Regions from separate parts of the Homo sapiens genome. Here all the other regions are linked to region 2. Evidence: promoter capture Hi-C in 16 types of primary human blood cells and fetal thymus (Javierre and others, 2016). All regions are on one chromosome and are shown on one strand. The core of a region is centred on a gene start or on the middle of the fragment in contact, and the rest is flanking DNA. Distances in the headings are between cores, read along the strand shown.

Region 1 (3,351 bases), core at 543-3,042, 540 kb after region 2:
CTCCAAAGATAGGGATGAGGTAGAGGCCCTTGATGTATGCTTTTTCCTATGGCTTGAATCCATCACTGTCTCCTGCAAGGCCCCTTAGCTTTCTCCTGAGTGGATGGAGGCCCCATAACTCTCTGATCTGCTTCATTTTCTCTGACACCCCTTAGGATCCTTTTTCAGACAATTTGGCTAGAGAATTATGGCTGACTTTCAGAAGAAAGGGAATGAAGTTTAAACTTGAACTGAGTCTTGCAATATCTTATGTTTTGCTAGCACAACATTCAAATTCTCTCCAATTTCTCTTCTCTGTCCATTATAAGATTTTACAAGGGAAAAGTCAAAGAAAGTAAGGCAGGTTGGGTATGGATACTTGTGGTGTACAATTATGCACCATTTTTAGCCAATTTAGCACAACTGAATACTGGGGGGGAAAAAACTCTCTTGATCAAATCATTAGTTTCTCTGGCATATGAGCTTTCAAGAAGGGTGAAGACCTCTCTTGGGATTTACATCTCCAACTGGTGGGTTTTCTTAACTTTTCAAATCTTGTAGGTAAATTGTAACCTGGTTATCAAATAGATTCCATTTTATTATAAATAAATTAGGCCCTATTTTGTTCCCATTTTCACATTTAAAAGCTAATCTTTGTTGTCATGCCTATCTGTTAAATCACATAATACATGAACTGGAAGGAAAATAAGAGCTCAGAGAATTCAATTTCCTTATTTTATAAATACACTGAAACTAACAAAGAGCGGCAACTGAGATGGAACTAGAACTAAGATTCTTGAATATTGGTTCAGTTTGTAGGGGTTAGAAAATATGACAAAGTCAGGCATAAGATAATTCTGTAATCACTGCTACTGTGTGGCATTGCACAGAGGTTTCATATAATAGAGTAAGTTAAGAAAAATAAAGCAAAGCTATGATTTTGAAAACAAAAGAGAAAATTCTATGTTTTCAACTGAAAGGATTATATACCTAGAATACCAAGACAAATAACTTACTAAATAAAACTGTAATAGAATTCAGGGAGATGGGTGATTAATAAGAATGCCATACAGAAATTAATATTTTGTAGTAAAAAATAAATAGAAAAAAAGTCCTCCTTTACAAATTTCATAAGCCCATAAGACTCCTAAAAACTAATAAGAAATGTTTATGGCATATATAAATAAAACAATCATACATTCTTGAAAAACTATAAAATACCTGAATCAATGAGAAACAAATCGTTTCTGGCTGAGAATCCCCCATACTGTAAAATTATCAGTTCTACCAAATCAGTTAGGAGATTTATTACACTCAAACCAAGATTCTCAAAGGATGATTTATAAAATGTGACAAGGTGATTCTAAAGTTCTTCTAGGAAACACATAAGTATAACCAATAAAATTCTGAGAAAGAATAATTATGAAAACAGGCTTGCTGTTTCAGATATCAGAATATATTTTGAAACAATACTGATGGAGGAATTGTTAAGTAACCGATGAAGCAGAAAAGCAGTAGAAATGAGTCCATATATACTGTGTTTTTAAAATGGTATATCAAAACGGTATATCAAAACTGTGGGGAAAGGGTGAGTTATGATTAATAAATAAATAAACTGCTGTAAGCCAGCAATACAATTACAAGAGAAAATAAAGTCAGTTCCCTCTTTGACCAATATGCAAATATGAATTCTAGCTAGAATAAAAGGATAAATATAAAACTTCCAGTGGAATAAAAGTACATATAGGAATTTTTTAAATACAAACTTATAAAGGTGGAAGAATCCTTGCTGAACAAGGCACGTTGTTGATGAATTATAAATAAAAAGAAGGAAATGGCCGGGTGTGGTGGCTCATGCCTATAGTCCCAGCACTTTGGGAGGCCAAGGCAGGTAGATTACTTGAGGTCAGGAGTTAAAGACCAGCCTGGCCAACATGGCAAAACCCCATTTCTACTAAAAACACAAAAATTAGCCAGGCATGGTGGCGCATGCCTGTAATCCCAGCTACCCGGGAGGCTGAGGCATGAGAATCACTTGAACCCAGATAAAACTTAAGAGTTCTGTATGACAGAAGACACCATGAACAAAGTATAAAGATAAGTGGCAGAGTTACAGGCAGGGAAAATGTTTACAACAAGAATGAACAGTAATAATTCCCAGAATATATATGGAAATCCTACCAAAAAAATAAGACAAACAATATAAACATATAAGCAAAATGTATGAACATTAGATTCATAGTAAAAGGTACTGATGGCTAATAAATATATAAAGATACAGTACTTGAGTAAGTTTTCATATAAATAATGACCTATAAGAAGAAACCAGGAGAAGCAGCACTGGATTAGCACTGAGACAAAATAACATCCACTGATTTGGGAGAACCAATGTCTTCACTATTGAGTCTTCCCATTCAGGAACATGCTTGGTCTATTCATTTATTCAGATCTGTATCCTTCAATTAGTGTAATTGCTTCATTTATAAGGACATAGATTTTTCATTGACTTTGGGAGGTTTTTTTGACATTACCTTTCAAACTTTTCTCATTTCTGTGTCACTCCTTTGTTCCCTAGTCCTTCATTGCCCTCCTATAAGACATTCTGTTAATATATCACATTAAATAAGAAATGAATAAAAACTCTAGCAACATTCAAGCAGCATTCTCTGAAGACACAGAAAATCTTGTAGAAAGAATTGTTTAAAGAACGCATGGCATATAAGAAAATGTGGAGGTGGGAAGCAAAGGAGATGATGGCTGTTCGTGTGCTCCCGGACCAGCTGGGGTCCTAGTGCAGAGACGCTGGGATCTGATTCAGAGCAAGGAGTTATCCTCATGCCAGATAAGGGTACATTCCAGGATGGCCAGGGCTAAGAAGGCTTTCAGCACACACTCCCTCTCCCCTTTTCATTTCCCTCCACCATAAGCTGAGGGCCCTCAAGTTTTTCCCTTGTCTTTTTTTTTTTTTGAGACGGAGTTCCCCTCTTGTTGCCCAGGCTGGAGTCCAGTGGTGCAATCTCGGCTCACTGCAACTACTGCCTCCCAGATTCCAATGATTCTCCTGCCTCAGACTCCCTAGTAGCTGGGATTACAGGCATGCGCCACCATGCCTGGCTAAATTTGTATTATTGGTAGAGACGGGGTTTCACCATGTTGGTCAGGCCGGTTTCGAACTCCTGACCTCAGGTGATCCACCCGCCTCGGCCTCCCAAAGTGCTGGGATTACAGCACTGTGCCCGGCCTTCCCTTGTCTTTTCCACACTTTCCTTCTTTCCCCAGGTTGACACTTCAGACCTCCAGGCTGCTTGACTGGCATAAGTCTTGAACCCAGCTTCCCTGTGCAGGAAAACATGCTGCTGCCTCTTGTTTTTC
Region 2 (3,388 bases), core at 410-2,909:
TGAACACGTAATTCAAACTATAATCCAGGAAAATCTGTAAGATTACCACTACAATCTGAAGATACTTCTGAGACTCTAGAAAAACTAGTTTATTATGGACTATTCCAGACATTAAGAAAAACCTTTGTTTTTCTTTGTTTCCATAGAAATGCCTCTTATTAAAGACCAGCTTGCCTGCATCAGCTGTAGAAGCCCAGCCCCTCTGTAGTGCCACCTCCTAGAATGGACACAGCTGTTTGACCAAATGCTTCTACTCTTAGGACTAAGAGACTGATTCAAGAAGATATGGGACAACATATTTATTTATTTTTCTTTTCTGCTTATCCCAATTTGTTTTTTCCCCTTCTTTGCCTTCTTTTCCTCTAACCCAAATCTCTCCATAATCACTGATTCAGCTGTTGATAATGTGAAATTCTAGGGAAGTTCCAAACAGGAGGATTGAAGGAGCGCAGGGAACTTGGCCCCAAAATATGGCTCCCTGGTATGAGTATTTTCAATTAAAGTCCCTCAAGATCAACAGAAGCTGGAAGAGTCCTCTCCCTTATCTACATGAAGACCCTGCAGACCCACCAAAGAGAACAATTACTTTTCCTTCTCCTCCCTCTTATCTCATTATCTATTGCAGAAAAGAAAACCAACACGTGACCACACCTGAACAGACGCTTTCAAAAAAATAATCCATTTCTCCAGCTTATTAAATTTTCAAAGAGAACCATTTACGAATAACTCTCTGTTTCTTGACCCATTCATTCTCCTTAATAATAATTTATTGCCCCTCAACAGAATCACCTACATTCCGCCTTCCACCCTCCTCTCTGAAAAAACGCTGTATAAGTATCTGGACCTCATGGGATATTGGGTAATCACCTTATTTTTCCCGTGTACACGTTAATAAATTTGTATGCATTTCTCTTATTAATCTGCATTGTACACTTAAAAAGTATTAAAAGAGTGAAATTTATGTTATGAATATTTTATCACAATAAAACAATATTTTAAAAAACTGACAAAAATTCTTTTTAATTTCTTTCAAGTGAGGAATTACCAACTACTTAACAGGGTGCTTAGAATGGGGGATTTTACCAGATAAGTGGCATGCTTTTTACAATTAACAATTGCTGTTATTTACTGAGTATCCACTTTCTCTGCCAGCTCCTGCGTTAAGCACTTTACATATACTAATTCAAATCCTTAAAAAAGAAAATAAAGAAGAGAAAAGGAAAGAAAAATAAGAACATGTAAGGCTATAAGGTGCCTCATCTTTGCCAAATTCTACAGACTGGCCAGGAGACTGCAGGCCACTGCAGCTTCCTAAGGCCACTCAGGACAAGGCCAGTCCGCAATTTGTTTCACTGTGAGACGGCTGCGCGGTCAGAGCCCAGACACGGTCATCAGACTCCCGGACTTGGATTCAGCTCCACATGGTGTCACCCTGGGTAAAGGATGTACATCTCTGCGTGCCTGGGTTTGTATGGATGGCAGCATGGATGCTCAGGCAACTGACCCGTCAGGACTGCAGCAAATGAACAGAAGCTGGGGGAGAGCGCGGGCTGGTGCTGTACGGAGCTCTGGCGCAGAAGGCGCTCACCAGGGGTGCCCAGAGCCGGGGTCTGTGCGCCGCGGGTTGGATCCGGGTCACAGGCTCTGGGTGGACAGAGTGAGAAGACAAAATGAGGATGTACTCCTCAGATGCTCACGAAAGGCCTCCTTCCCCTTCTTTGGGAACGACCCCCCCCCACCCCCTCCCCCCAACAGGCAGTCCCAGGCCGCGCCAGGACTCGGCCGCAGGCAACTCGGAGGAGCGGGAGCCCAGGGGCCTCAGGAGGGCCTCGGGAGTGGGGAGGTGAAGGGGGCGTCGGGAGGGCCGCGGGTGGGAGGCGGGATAGGGAGGCGGGGAGACTCGGAGCGGGGTTGGGGAGGCGAAGAATGGAGGTGGGGAGGTGGGGAGGGGGGCTTCGGGAGGGCCGCGGGTGGGAGGGGGATGGGGAAGCGAGAAGGGGGGGCGGGGAGGGGGGCCTCGGGAGGACCGCGGGTGGGAGGTGGGTGGGGAGGGGGGCCTGGGGAAGGATGGAGCCCGCTGAAGGCAGGCGATGACGCAGGCCCAGTGTACTTCTCCTGGGGGCTCCTTTCTAGGCCCACGGAAGCTCCGTGTTGGTTTCTTTGTACCCATATCACACTCACTGTATTTCTTCTTTCCTTTCCTCTCCCAGCAGCTGTAAGCGCCCTACAGTTTGCATGGGAAGGCAACAGGGACTTCCCTTTTGCACTGTCTGCGGGTACCGCTGTTCCAGCCCTGAGAGGACGAGGGGACGCTGCGCTGTGGGGAAAGTCCGGGTGGCAGGAGGTGGCGGGGCTCCTGGAGGAGGTGCTGGGATGCGCTGCTGTGGCTGCAGAGAAAGGTCCCGAGGACGCAACCCGTCCCTTCCCCCGAACTGCGAAGGAGCCCCGCGGGGAGGACGGGCAGGGTCTCCCGGAGGGAGGAACAGGGGAGCCTGGAGTCTCAGGGTTGCGGGGAGCAGAGGCGTTCTGGGTGGTGAACGTCCCCAGCCTGCCCTCCCTGCTCACTGCGAGGTCGCGCACCGGCTCTGCTCCAGGCCTTCCCTCAGCCCTGGCCTCCAGGCAGTTTCCATTTTTGCCAGGTGGATTCTGTACGGCTTCATTTATTCAGAATCTGGATCAACAAATGAACACTCAGAGAGGAAAAGGGTGTTTGGAGGGGTGGAGAGGTTTCCAAGCAGGTGCCCACCTGAGGGCCCCCTGAAAGGGGACTTAAAGCCGAGTTTCCAGCTGGGCCACCCTTTTTTTTTCTTTCTTTCTTTCAGAAATATAAACAAAGAGCTTGAATTATTTTGAAATAACTGTTGGTAGCTGGACTGTGTTCTCTTGACCGCAACATTGCTCTGGGACTGAATCGCGTGGGTCTCTGCTCTTCCTAAGTGTTACATAAGAATAGCGAACCCATGAGGTCAGCTTCTAAACCAGTTTCTTCCCATAACCTCCTGGACCAAGTCCCAAGCAAGGCCCAGAGGAGCTCAAGGACCCACTCTCCCCGGGACACTCCTCGCTCTCTAGTTGGAAGGAGGAAATGAATGTCCCCCAGTAATTGAAGGCTGCTCATGTTTGTGTAGAAAAGCCAAGCACAGGCCCATATTCTAGAGGGTTGCTTGCGGCAGGCGGAAGGCCATCGAAGGCAAAACGAAACAAATGAAAAGGCATCTTTTGAAGCTAATGGAACAGATCAGGTGGTCAAAAATGGATAAACAATGGCATTTGGAGCAAAACTTTCAGCTTCTTCGTTTTAGTTCGACAGCCCCAGGAGGGCATGGAAGCTTCTCGCCCTCCTCATATGTCTTGCCCCAGGCATCTCTGTGTCTCTCTCCTCTGTAAC
Region 3 (3,562 bases), core at 299-2,798, 560 kb after region 2:
GGGGCTGGAAGAGGAGTGCAGAGGGGAGGGGCTGCCAGGAGAGCCCCAGATGAGAGGGTCTGACGTCCTCCTGACCTTTAAGTCTGGCCTCAGTGCCAAGAAGGAGGGCAGACTGGACCGCAAACAGCCCCCTGGGCTCATGCCTGCATCTCATTATCTGCCCTGCCCCCAGAGGCATCAAATGCCTGGTTGTTCTCAGATTCCCCACCCTGCTGCCTGTCGCATCCTTTGCTGAAAGATGTGCTGTAGGCGCCATGAAAGAAGGGACAGGGCCTGAGCAGAGGCCCCACTCCATGCTTGCTCCTATACTCTTCCTCACTCCCCGGGTCCCCTGGTAAGCAGATGTCTCTGGAGGCTGGAGACCTGGATCCTATCCTTTCCTCTCCCTGATGGGGTAATGGGGCTTGCTCCAGGGAGAGGAAAGGAGAGGACCCAGGTATCCCTAGGGAGAGGCCTAGAGAGGACCTCATCCAGCACTGGGCTTTGTTGTGAGTCCCCAGTGTGGTTCCCATGCGTTTACACCAGTCTCGGCCCTGGCTCTGCATCTCACTTGCTGTGGGCCCCCAGAAGTTCCTTTGCCCTCAGACCTACAAACTATCTCTTGTACAACAAGGAGGTTGAAACACAGGATCCCAGGACCAGTATGTAATCCATTGAGTTGATTTTGCCATTGGTTGAACAGATACTCTGGCGGGAGCAGGTTACACTTTTAGCTTCTTAAACATCTCTCAAATCTGTTCACTCTTTCCATCTCCACCCTCACTGCCTTATTCCTGTGTGCCACCATCCTTGCCTGGACCAATATTCTCCAGGCCTCCAGATCTGGAAGCCTCCATCCAACTCATCTACTTAATAGTGAAATGCAAACCTGATTGTATTACTCGCCTCCTAAAATCCCTTCAAACACTTCACATTGCTTTTGAGCTAAAGATGCAAATCCTTCACATAGCCCAGAAGGCCTTACATGGCCCAGCCTCACCTCTCAGCCTCCTATTCCCTTCTTTGCTTCCCTGCTCTCCATCAGACAACAAAGGGCAAGGTTGGGAGCCATGTCTTGTTCTGTTCATCAAGCTGTCTCCAGCGTGTGGTGTCATTCCAGGTTCAGCCAGCAGAATTAAGTGGACAAATGAATGATGAACACCAAAGATGGCAATTATCTCTCACAGAGATGAAGAGAACAAGCCCCCTTGCCCAAAGTGCCTTGTCACGTTGATGCCCGATGTTCCACCATCAGAAGTCAAAACTAGATCCCTCCCACGTCCCTTCAAACTCTACAGAGCCTTTGTTGCGAGAGATCCAATGTATATTTATAAGACATGCAACCCATGCTGACACCATGAGGCAGCTTCCTTTCACTGATTGCCTGTAATGTGACAAGCACTTTGCATTTGCGGCAGACCTCCTGGATGGGCCTGTGCTCTCATTCAGATGCACAGAATTAGGCAATCCTCCTGTTCAACCTTCCATGCAATGACCAGTATGGAACCAGGAGCTGCCTGAGGAAAACAGGAACCATGTGTTTTTCTGTCTGGAGATAAACCAGATTCCAAGGGGACACAGGTGCCCTGGGAAAGATGTTAATGAATGAAGTTTCTCAGGCCAAGAGCTAGTCAGCAGCATATGTATGTGCAAGGGGTCAGTGGTGCTACAGCATCTATAGGGTTGGTTCTGCAAGAGGCCTCCTTCCCCAAGCCTGCACCAGCCGTGGGCATTATCAGGAGGCCACACGTTCTTTTGTGGCCCCGTGAAAGAACAGTTCTGCGGCCAAACATTTACAGTCATTGTCATATTTTCCAAGGCAAGGCCATGGGGGCTCAAGTCAGCACCAGCTCTGGGGAGGAAGAGATAAGCTGAGGCTGAAGAACCAAAGTCAGAAGGAGAGGAACCAGCACACGAGGAAGGTGAGGAATGGTATCTTCTGAGAGGTGTGGCCGACCTGGGAGGCATTACGGGACCAGGTGCACCCTTGAGCCACCAGAGGCATGACAGTGGGCCTGACTAGAGCCCCCAGCTGCAGGGGTCAGCTGGGATGTCCCCAGGCCTGGGCACTGAAACACACCAGGGTGAACATTTGCAGGAAAAATAAATCCATGAATGAACTGAGCTACTCTCATCTTGAAGCTACTTGTGTTCTCTTGTGCAGCCATTTTTTCCATTTGAAACCCACCTCCCTCACCTACCCCATCCTACGGCTGTTCTAGAAGAGTGAGCAGGTATACCGACACCTCACACAGGGCTTGCACGCTGCAGGTGATCAGGAAATGCTCATTCCCTCCCTGCCTCTTTTGGGTTCTCAGGCACAGTTTACCCCTGTCAAATTCCCATTAGACTAGATGCTCTGCCCAGCCCTTTCAATGCTGACGTTTCACACATCTTGTAAGAAAGCCCTTGGGTCTGGCCAGGCCCGGGTGTGGACAGGGATGCTCACATTGAGCCTGTGGACACAGAAGAGTCTTTATTCGGGCAGACTCTTGAGCCCTTGTTCTGACTGAGCCTATTGGTGCATTTGAGGGGGGTTGGGGGGAGTGAGGATTTAAAAAAAAAAAAAAAGGTCTTGAGGGATGCTGGGGAAGGAAGAGAAGCCAAGTGTCTGGATGGTGTGACCCCAGACTGCAACGCTAGAATGACTCTCAAAACATTCTCCTTTATCAAGGAAACAAGAATGTGAGTCACTCTCTTCCCGCACCCCAGGGGTTTCTTTGCTGAGCAGGGCTGCAAACTGTTCAGCTAATTAGGCTGCATCCTGACCTTAGCCTCCATCCGCAGCAGGCCTCCCTTGAGGGGAGCCGAGGTGCTGCTGCCACCTAGGGTCAGGAGAGTGCACTGCAGGGGGACCGCAGGGCCAGGAAGGAAAAGTCAGGACCCTGAATAAAAGGGCAAGTGGTCCCAGCATGGTTCCGTTTACAAAGAACTTCCCATCTACCACTGCTGGGCTCTTAAAAGAATCCCATGAATTCAGCAGGGCAAGGTTTTACTATCTTCTCTTTACATATAAAGACGCTAGTGATTGCATGGCTGAGGACGGGGGTCTGGGACATTACGAACTCTGCGGCAGAGGTTATGGGTAGACTGTGGGAATTCTTCATGAGGGTTTTTAAAAGCTATTGCTGGTGTAAGTTGGTCTGTAAACATCCTTAGGAAGAATTGGAGAGCAAATGAGTCATGGGGTCCTGATAACTGCACTGAGCTTCACTAAAGGCCACAGGGTCAAGGGCTTAAGAGACAGAGTGAGGGCCACTGGGTCTCTTAGCCCATCATCAGGGCCCCCATTGTCTGCCGGAAGATGCCAGCAAACCCACCATCCTCGAGGTGCTGGCCAGCCCAGCTAACAGTCAAAAAGGAGGAGGATGGTGATAGATAGAAATGTTATTTTGTGTATTTATTTCATCACAACCTCAGGTACATGACTGCTATGGGCTGAATGTTTGCATCCTCCTGGAGTAGGCATGTTGAAGCCTAACCACGATGTGATGGTATTTGGAGGTGAGGACTCCAGGAGGTGATGAGGTCATGTGCCTGGAGCTCTCATGATGGGATTAGTGCTCCTATAAGAGACCTGAGG

The links. The method cuts DNA at HindIII sites, captures the fragments that hold promoters and counts their contacts. A CHiCAGO score of 5 or more calls a contact.
Region 1: a fragment that was not itself captured here is called in contact with the fragment with the promoter of LINC02881 in region 2 in 3 of 17 cell types (M2 macrophages, M1 macrophages and M0 macrophages); the score reaches 6.9 in M2 macrophages.
Region 3: a fragment that was not itself captured here is called in contact with the fragment with the promoter of LINC02881 in region 2 in 3 of 17 cell types (M0 macrophages, M2 macrophages and M1 macrophages); the score reaches 8.6 in M0 macrophages.

The regions. Positions count from the first base shown.
Region 1 is chr10:44,835,606-44,838,956 of GRCh38, forward strand. The region is part of intron 2 of TMEM72-AS1 (TMEM72 antisense RNA 1); the gene reads right to left. Among named protein-coding and RNA genes, the nearest start is that of TMEM72, 74 kb to the right of the region's middle. The HindIII fragment of the contact is 8,905 bases long and covers 1-3,351 here.
Region 2 is chr10:44,291,091-44,294,478 of GRCh38, forward strand. LINC02881 (long intergenic non-protein coding RNA 2881) reads left to right here and starts at 1,660. Exons shown (of 3, transcript NR_164139.1): 1 at 1,660-1,843; 2 at 2,211-2,399; 3 at 2,823-3,388. LOC124902544 (a long non-coding RNA gene) reads right to left here. Exons shown (of 3, transcript XR_007062369.1): 3 at 2,824-3,388. The HindIII fragment of the contact is 4,267 bases long and covers 1-3,327 here.
Region 3 is chr10:44,855,135-44,858,696 of GRCh38, forward strand. All of the region lies in intron 2 of TMEM72-AS1 (TMEM72 antisense RNA 1), which reads right to left. Among named protein-coding and RNA genes, the nearest start is that of TMEM72, 54 kb to the right of the region's middle. The HindIII fragment of the contact is 4,983 bases long and covers 1-3,562 here.